2 separate regions of the Homo sapiens genome follow, and region 1 is linked to region 2. Evidence: promoter capture Hi-C in 16 types of primary human blood cells and fetal thymus (Javierre and others, 2016). All regions are on one chromosome and are shown on one strand. The core of a region is centred on a gene start or on the middle of the fragment in contact, and the rest is flanking DNA. Distances in the headings are between cores, read along the strand shown.

Region 1 (5,751 bases), core at 2,837-5,336, 150 kb after region 2:
TTTTGTTTTGATGACCTTGACAGTTTTAAGGAGTACTGATCAAATATTTTGTAGGAAATGTCTCTTTTGGACTTTTTCTCATGTTTAAACTAGGGTTGTGGGTCTTAGGGAGGAAGATCACAGAGGTAAAGTGCCATTGTCATTACATCATTTCAAGGGTTTATACTATGAGTGTCATTTATGCCTGTTGGTGTTACCCTTGATCAACTGGCAGAAGTAGTGTTTGTTAGGTTTCTCCACCTAAGGTTACTCTTTCCCACCTTTTCCATACTGTACTGTGTGGAAGGAAGTCACTATGTGCAGCCCACGCCTAAGAAATGGTTATGCCCCATCCCCTTGAGGGTAGAGTATCTACATAGATTATTTGGAAATCTTTAAGGAGGATCTGTGTCTCATCCTTAACTCATCCTTAATTTATTAATTTTTCCAGTTATTACGTACATCAATATGGTCTTTTTTTTTTTTTTGAGAGGGAGTTTCGCTCTTGTTGCCCAGGCTGGAGTGTAAGGGCGCCATCTCAGCTCACTGCAACCTCTGCCTCCCAGGTTCAAGCGATTCTCCTGCCTCAGCCTCCCGAGTAGCTGGGATTACAGGCATGCGCCACCACACCCAGCTGTTTTTTGTATTGTTTAGTAGAGATGGGGTTTCACCATGTTGGGCAGGCTGAAGTCTCGAACTCCTGACCTCAGGTGATCCACCCTCCTCGGTCTCCCAAAGTGCAGGGATTACAGGTGTGAGCTACTGCGCCCAGCTCAATCAGCCATTTCTTTAGAGAGCCCTGGCATGTATTGGAGACTGTTAACAGAAATCAAGACCTAGGTGTTGAATGTGCTCTTCGATATCAGGTTGTCCATGCTTCTAGGCCCTGTCAGCTGATAGAGCAAGGAGCTACATGTATGTATAGTGGCCTTTGTACACATATCTATAAATATTTCTACCTGTAACCATCTGTATTTATATTAAACATGAATCCTTACTGATGTCTCCAACTCAGATCCATTATCACATGCTTCATTCTAGCCTTCTCCCCTTGTTCATCTGCAAATTCCCTCTCCAACAGTAGATACGCCATCAGATGTATATGCACTGGTTCCTACCATCCATTTATGTAACTGCTCATTTCCATATACACGCGTAGCAGAATCACACTTGTTCACCCGTACCCCCGTGGGAAACAACTTTATCACTATAGCTCAATGCTACATATAGTTCTTTTTTGCCTTTGGTGTTACAGACTCCATTCATTTTGAAAGTGACCTACTTGTACCCCCACCCCCTTCAAATGAGGGTGTTTATTTTTATTTTATTTTATTATTATTATTTTTTGAGACAGAGTCTCGCTCTGTCGCCCAGGCTGGAGTGCAGTGGCGTGATCTCGGCTCACAGCAAGCTCCACCTCCCAGGTTCACACCATTCTCCTGCCTCAGCCTCCCGAGAAGCTGGTACTACAGGTGCCTGCCACCACACCTGGCTAATTTTTTGTATTTTTAGTAAGAGACGGGGTTTCACCGTCTTAGCCAGGATGGTCTCAATCTCCTGACCTCGTGATCCGCCCGCCTCGGCCTCCCAAAGTGCTGGGATTACAGGCGTGAGCCACCGCGCCCGGCCAAGGTTGTTTCATGTTTGTAATACATTTGTATTATTTTGTCACATTTTTGCATTCTATGCTGGGATCTCAGATCTCCTAATTTTTTATTTATTTATTTTTGAGACAGAGTCTCACTGTCGCCCAGGCTGGAGTGCAGTGGTGCGATGATCTCAACTCACCGCAGCCTCTACCTCCTGGGTTCAAGCAATTCTCGTGCCTCAGCCTCCCGAGTAGCTGGAATTACAGGCATGCACTACCACACCTGGCTAATTTTTGTATTTTTAGTAGAGACGGGGTTTCATCATGTTGCCCAGGCTGGTCTCGAACTCCTGACTTCAGGTGATCTGCCTGCCTCGGCCTCCCAAAGTGCTGGGATTACAGGCATGAGCCACCGCGCTGGCCATAGATCTCCTAATTTTTATTTTATTTTATTTTATTTATTTATTTATTTTTTGAGACAGAGTCTTGCTCTGTCACCCAGGCTGGAGTACAGTGGTGCGATCTCGGCTCACTGCAACCTCAGCCTCCGTGGTTCAAGTGATTCTCTTGCCTCTGCCTCCCGAGTAGCTGGGATTACAGGCACGCGCCACCACGCCCAGCTAATTTTTTTGATTTTTAGTAGAGACAGGTTTCACCATATTGGCCAGGCTGGTCTCGAACTCCTGACCTCAGGAGATCCACCCACCTTGGCCTCCCAAAGTGCTGGAATTACAGGCATGAGCCACCGTGCCCAGCCTTCCTAATTTTTTTTTAAATAGCATATATTAAGGTCCACTCTTTGTGTTGTACATTCTATGGGTTTTGACAAATGTGTAATGTTATGTATCTACTATTACAGTATTATTCAGAATAGTTTGACCACCCTTAAAATTCCTCATACTCCATATGCTTACCCCTCCCTTCCTCCCTCTTCCTGCAAACACTATTGTCTTTGTGGGTTGCCTTTTTCAGAATGTCATATAATTGTAATCATACAGTATGTAGCCTTTTCATACTGTTTTTTTTTTTTTTTTTTGAGACAGTGTATCACTGTTGCCCAGGCTGGAGTGCAGTGGCACAATATCACTGCAGCCTTTACCTCCTGGGTTTAAGCAATCCTCCCACCTCAGCCTCCCAAGTAGCTGGGACCACAGGCACACACCACCATGCCTGGCTAACTTTAAAAATATTTTTATTTTGTAGAGACAGGATCTCACTGTGTTGCTCAGGCCAATCTCAAATTCCTGGGGACAAGTGATCCTCCCGCCTTGGCCTCTCAAAGTGCTGGTATTGCAGGGGTGAGCCACCTGCAGCCAATTTGCTTTTTTCCCCCCTGAAATTAAAATGGTCAATGTGACAGACTGCTTCTTTTCACTTAGCAGTATGCATTAAGGTTTCTCCATGTTCTTTCATGGCTTGTTAGCTGGTTTCTTTCTTATCACTTAATGTTCCTTTTATGGAGGTACCAGTTTAATTATTCACCTATTAAAAGACATTCTTGGTTGCTTCCAGTTTTTGATGATTATGAATAAAGCTTCTGTAATGTGCATGCAGGTTTTTTTGTGGACGTAATTTTTTAGATCAGTTGTATACATACCTGGGAGCAAGATTGCTGGATTGCGTTGTAAGATTATGTTTTGATTTATGAGGAACTGAGAAACTGTCTTCCCAAGTGGCTGTATTATTTGCATGCCCACCATAATGATTTGGAAGTTCCTGTTGTCAGCATTACCAGCAATTGATACTGTCATTGTGTTGGATTTTAGCCATTCTCTTAGGTGTGTAGTGGTATCTCATTATTTTAACTTGCAGTTGCCTATTGGCAAATGCTGTTGAGCATCTTTTCATATGCTTATTTGCCATCTGTATAGCTTCTTTGGTGAATTGTGTTTGTGACTTCCTGACATACAATTCCTAAAATCCTTAGAATCTGCAAAGTGTTGCCTTTTTGTATGCTAATGAGGTGACTGATGGCTGGCAGCCTCTAGGTAGCTTCAGGATGGGGGCTGGTGACCTGAAAGACCAAGGCAGGATTAGAGGTTTGCAACTTTAAGCCCATCCCCCAGCCTTTGGGGAGGGGAGAGAGGCTGAAGATTAGGTTGATCACTAGTGTCCAATGGCATAATCAATAATGCCTGCATAATGAAGCTTCCAAAGAATCCCAAAAGGATTGGGTTCTGGGAGCTTTTGGGTAGCTGAATACATGGAAGTTTCTAGAGGGTGGCACCCCAGGGAGGGCATGGAAGCTCCACGTCCCTTCCCCCATATCTCACTCTGTGCATCTCATCTGTATCCTTTGTAATTTTCTCTATAATAAACTGGCAGACGTGTTTCCTGGGTTTTGTGAGCTGCTCTAGCAAGTTAGTTGAACCCCCAAAAAAGTATTGTGGGAATCCCAATTTATAGCTGGTCAGTCAGAAATTCTGGAGGCCCAGACTTTCGACTGGTGTTCGAAGGGGGTTGGGGGGAGTCTTGTGGGACTGAGCCCTCAACCTGTGGGATCCCAGGCTGTCTCTGGGTATTGAATTGCATTGGAGGATGGACACCAGGTGTCCGCTGCTTGCTGTGTGGGAAAACACCCTCCCCCCAGCCCGCACACTTGGTCACAGAAGTCTCCTGTGTTGATTGTTGTTGAGTGAGAGTAGAAAAAACACTTGGAGTGTGTTTAACACTGCCAGAGTGGTTAGATTTTTTGACTATTTTTTTAATTGGCTTGTTCTAACATAGTTTTACGAATTGTTTTTAACTATTCACAGTAAAAAATTACATTTTATCTGAATGCAAGGTCTGCAGGAAAAAGAAAAGAATACATTTTACATGATTACTTAGCATATATGCATTTGTGTGTGATGTGTATATGTGCATTAAAATAATGTTAACTAAAGCTTCATGAAACAACATTTGCACTTATTCCCTGGGATATATTCTGATATTTTCTATTTTTTAAAAATGCTGTTGGATCTCAGCCTGAAAAACAGTACTCTGATGTAGTGTCCTGTAACTCATAGCACCCCACACCATGTTGATACTGCCCCCTTATTCCCTCACACACCCACTACTTCCCCCAACCCCTCACATGCTTGAATACTCCCTCCACCCGGTGCACACATAGCTAATTTTTGTATGTGTCTCATCTGCTCATGTGTGTGAAAGTCCTCAACATTATGAAACAGTCATCACTGGATGGGGCTTCTTTAAATTAAGGCCCAGGGCCAGGTGCAGTGGCTCACACCTATAATCCCAGCACTTTGGGAGGCCGAGTCGGGTGGATCACCTGAGGTCAGGAGTTCAAGGCCAGCCTGGCCAACATGGTGAAACCCCATTTCTACTAAAAATACAAAAAAGTTAGCCGGGGGTGGTGGCACTCACCTGTAATCCCAGCTACTTGGGAGGCTGAGGCTGGAGAATCCCTTGAACCTGGGAGGCGGAGGTTGCAGTGAGCCGAGATTACCCCACTGCACTCCAGCCTGGGCGACAGAGCGATACTTCGTCTCAGAAAAAAAAAAAAAAATAAGTCCCAGGTTGGAAGGCACCTGACTGCTCCAGTCTCAGTGCCTCAGTTGAGGTGGTTTGGGGGTTAGAGTCAGGTCTTACAAGCATAGGAGTTTGGAATGACAGGTCCCACATCCCAAGCCTGCTTTCCCTTGGTCCCCAATCAAGAGGTAGTCTGTGGAGTGTTGCTCTTTGGGAGTACCTGCTTTCCTGTCTCCTTTTTTTTCTGGGGCCTGTGGGCCTACCTCGCTGAGCCTGTTCTGGCTCTTGGGCAGGTTCAGTGTGTTATTGCACATCCCTGTTCCTCTCCCTCCTTGCAGTTTGCAGAGCAGTCTCTGATGAAGAATGCCATAAAAACATCGGAGGAGTCATGGATTGAACAGCAGATGCTAGAAGACAAGAAACGGGCCACAGACTGGGAGGCCACAAATGAAGCCATCGAGGAGCAGGTGGCTCGGGAATCCTACCTGCAGTGGTTGCGGGATCAGGAGAAACAGGCTCGCCAGGTCCGAGGCCCCAGCCAGGTGGGTCATGGACTCTGTCACAGGCTTGGCCAAAAACTCATTACTTCTCATGCTTTGCCCTCAAGCGAGCAGAAAAAAATTAAGCAGTTTTGACATCTGGGAGGGAAGGAAGCATCCAGCACCATCTGTAACTCATCTTGGTCTTAGTTTTGGCATTGTACCTTGGAA
Region 2 (2,840 bases), core at 1-2,500:
GATTGGGCAGTACGTGGACTCTCAGTGGAGCCTGGCGAGCTTCACTGTGCCTGCTGAGTCAGCTTGCATCTGCGCCTTCGGTCGCAATACTTCCAAGAACGTCAACTCTGTCATTGGTGAGTGGGAACAGCCCCTTGGTTGGGGGTACTGCATGGGGCAAAGGCCTGCAGGTTGGACCTGAAAGGATTTTAGGGCCATGTGAGGCTCAGCTTCATCATCAGTAAGGGGGACAGCACTGGGCAAAGGCCTGGAGGCAGACCCTAGGTCCTGAGATGCCTGAGAGGACTGGAGCCTGTGGCTGTGGCAGCCTCTGACCTTTTACCACCCCCCCTCCCCCAGCCATCTGCGTAGATGGGACCTTCCACAAATATGTCTTCACTCCTGATGGAAACTGCAACAGAGAGGCTTTCGACGTGTACCTTGACATCTGTGATGATGATGACTTTTAAGGACCCTGGGGGCTGTGCTAGGGACCTGCAGTGGCAGAACTGCAGAGCTGAGCCTTGGCAGTGGGGCGTGCTTGGAAGCCACCAGCCAGCAAGCATTAATGGGGCTGGTGCCCACTTTCCACTCAGCAGAGCTATGTCTAAATAAAGAGCTCACTTCCCCCCAGCACTTCTTGATGACTGTGTGCCCCAAGGGCCAGGCCAGAGACCCAGGAAGGCAGCGACCCCTTGGGATCCCTAACCTGGAGGAAATTGCCAGGGACCCAGAGGGAGTGCCCTAATCCAACCTGGGGATTTTTTAAAAGCTTCCTAGGAAGAGATGATCTCCGATGTGATGAATACGAATAAAAGGCCCTTAATGGCATTTACGGCTTGACCTCAGGGGCGGGGCATGGAGTTTCCTGGAGAAATGTGACCCTCTTGGGCGCTGACAGGAAGGAGGTGGAATCCAACTCGGATCCTTGTGACAGTCCCTCCTTTCTTATCTGTCTGGCTACTTTGTGCTTGAGCCGCTGGCACCGCCCGGAGCAGCCCCTGCGGCGCCCCGCGCGGGGGTGGATGGCAGTTTTAAGGGTTGGGAGCATCTCGCTTCGTGGCAAAGGCTTGATTTCCCGGCAGCCTTTGCTGCTTTCCTGAGCGGCGTGTTAGTTGCTTTTCCGGTCACGTGCATCGCCGCCCCTGCGCAATCCACCTAGGAGGTTAGGAAAAAGCTGCCCAGCCCAGACTCCATTTCCCGGTGTGCCCCGCGGTGGCGAGGGGCGTAACGGTTGTTGTAGTCCGGCCCCCTCCTGGCTGGTCCAGCCACATTAACCGGCAGGATGTCGGAGGTGCGGCTGCCACCGCTACGCGCCCTGGACGACTTTGTTCTGGGGTCGGCGCGTCTGGCGGCTCCGGATCCATGCGACCCGCAGCGATGGTGCCACCGCGTCATCAACAACCTCCTCTACTACCAAACCAACTACCTTCTCTGCTTCGGCATCGGCCTCGCTCTCGCCGGGTGAGGGAGGGAGGCGCCGGTTGGCCAGGGACGTCTGCAGAGCGTGGGGGTAGACCCACAGGTCTTTGAGGACCAGGACGGGGAACCTGAGGGGGGTGCAAGGCCGGGAAGGGCGAAGTCAGTAGAGATGGACGGCCTGAGGGGCTTGGAAGGGGGGCCTTGAAGGAGGTGGAGCCTAGTTATAAGGAGGGCCTCAGGGAGATGGAGCCTGGCTGATGAGGAGGGCCTGCGGGGGATGGGGGTCTGCAAGGAAGATATGGGGAGGATGGAGACAAGTGTGGGACTGAAGGGGAAAGTGGGCTGGAAGGTGAACCGGAAAAAAAGGAGGGCCCGAAAGGGGGACATGAGAGTACTTGAGGGGCGTAGGGGGGGTGTGATGTGAATGATGGGGCCAGATTGAGGCCGACCCTGGAGTACTTAGGGCAGAGACCGGGAAATAGACGGTAAAGTTGGAGGGTTTGGAAGATGTATTTATTGGGGATCCGGTCTTGGAGGGGAGCCTGGCTATGATTGGAAGGCGCCAGGGGCAGGTACCTGTTGGGGAACTTGGGCCCAGGAGGAGGATCCATGGTTGGAAAGCCTGAGACCAGAGAGGGATGGAGAATCTGGAGGAAGGACTTGAGCAGTGCTGAAAGTTCAGAGTGGGGCTGACGACCTGGAAGAGGTCCTAGCAATGATGGAGGGAGGAATCTATAGGGAAATGGGAGCCTGGAGGGCGGTTCTATAAGGACCCTAGGCCTGGGGAGAGGGGAACGTGTGAAGACAGAAGGCCTGAAAGAGGGATTTGCAGGGGCTGGTGTTAAAGGGGGAGCTTGCGGGCAGGCTGATGAGGGGCCCTACGGGGGCAGAGTCGGAAGGAAAGTCCAGGGAAGTGTTGGGAGCCCGGGGGTGTGGGGAGTGTCTAGCAGGATGGGAGGGCCTGAAGCGGGGACCTGAGGAAGACAGGACAGTGGAATTGACAAGGAGGAAAGGAGGGGTCTACAAGGGTGAGTCGGGAGCCCTGGCAGATGGGCCTGCTGGAGATAGGGCTGGTGGGAGGATGTGCCAGGCTGGAGTGTCCGGAGACGGGAGACCCTGGCTCTTGGGGCCCAGGGTGGGTGGTGGTCCGGAGGCCGTCTCTCCGCCCGGCCGGCTAGCTTGGTTCCCTTGTACCCGCAGGTACGTGCGGCCACTTCATACGCTCCTGAGCGCGCTGGTAGTGGCGGTGGCCCTCGGCGTGCTGGTGTGGGCAGCTGAGACCCGCGCAGCTGTGCGCCGCTGCCGCCGCAGCCACCCTGCAGCCTGCCTGGCCGCAGTGCTTGCCGTCGGCCTCCTGGTGCTCTGGGTCGCGGGCGGCGCTTGCACCTTCCTGTTCAGCATCGCCGGGCCGGTGCTTCGTGAGTCTCCACTACCCCGAG

What was found. Contacts are between HindIII fragments. The CHiCAGO score rates a contact against its expected background, and 5 or more counts as called.
Region 1: a fragment that was not itself captured here is called in contact with the fragment with the promoter of PRAF2 in region 2 in 1 of 17 cell types (total CD8 T cells); the score reaches 5.3 in total CD8 T cells.

What each region holds. Positions count from the first base shown.
Region 1 is chrX:48,925,679-48,931,429 of GRCh38, reverse strand. It overlaps OTUD5 (OTU deubiquitinase 5), which reads left to right. Exons shown (of 9, transcript NM_001136157.2): 6 at 5,380-5,583. Among named protein-coding and RNA genes, the nearest start is that of PIM2, 9.5 kb to the right of the region's middle. RefSeq lists an enhancer at 3,335-3,973. The HindIII fragment of the contact is 737 bases long and covers 3,718-4,454 here.
Region 2 is chrX:49,072,412-49,075,251 of GRCh38, reverse strand. It overlaps PRAF2 (PRA1 domain family member 2), which reads left to right and starts at 1,250. Exons shown (of 3, transcript NM_007213.3): 1 at 1,250-1,443; 2 at 2,602-2,819. The coding sequence starts at 1,265. WDR45 (WD repeat domain 45) reads left to right here. Exons shown (of 11, transcript NM_001029896.2): 10 at 1-116; 11 at 340-810. The coding sequence ends at 449. RefSeq lists a silencer at 968-1,067. The HindIII fragment of the contact is 3,027 bases long and covers 754-2,840 here.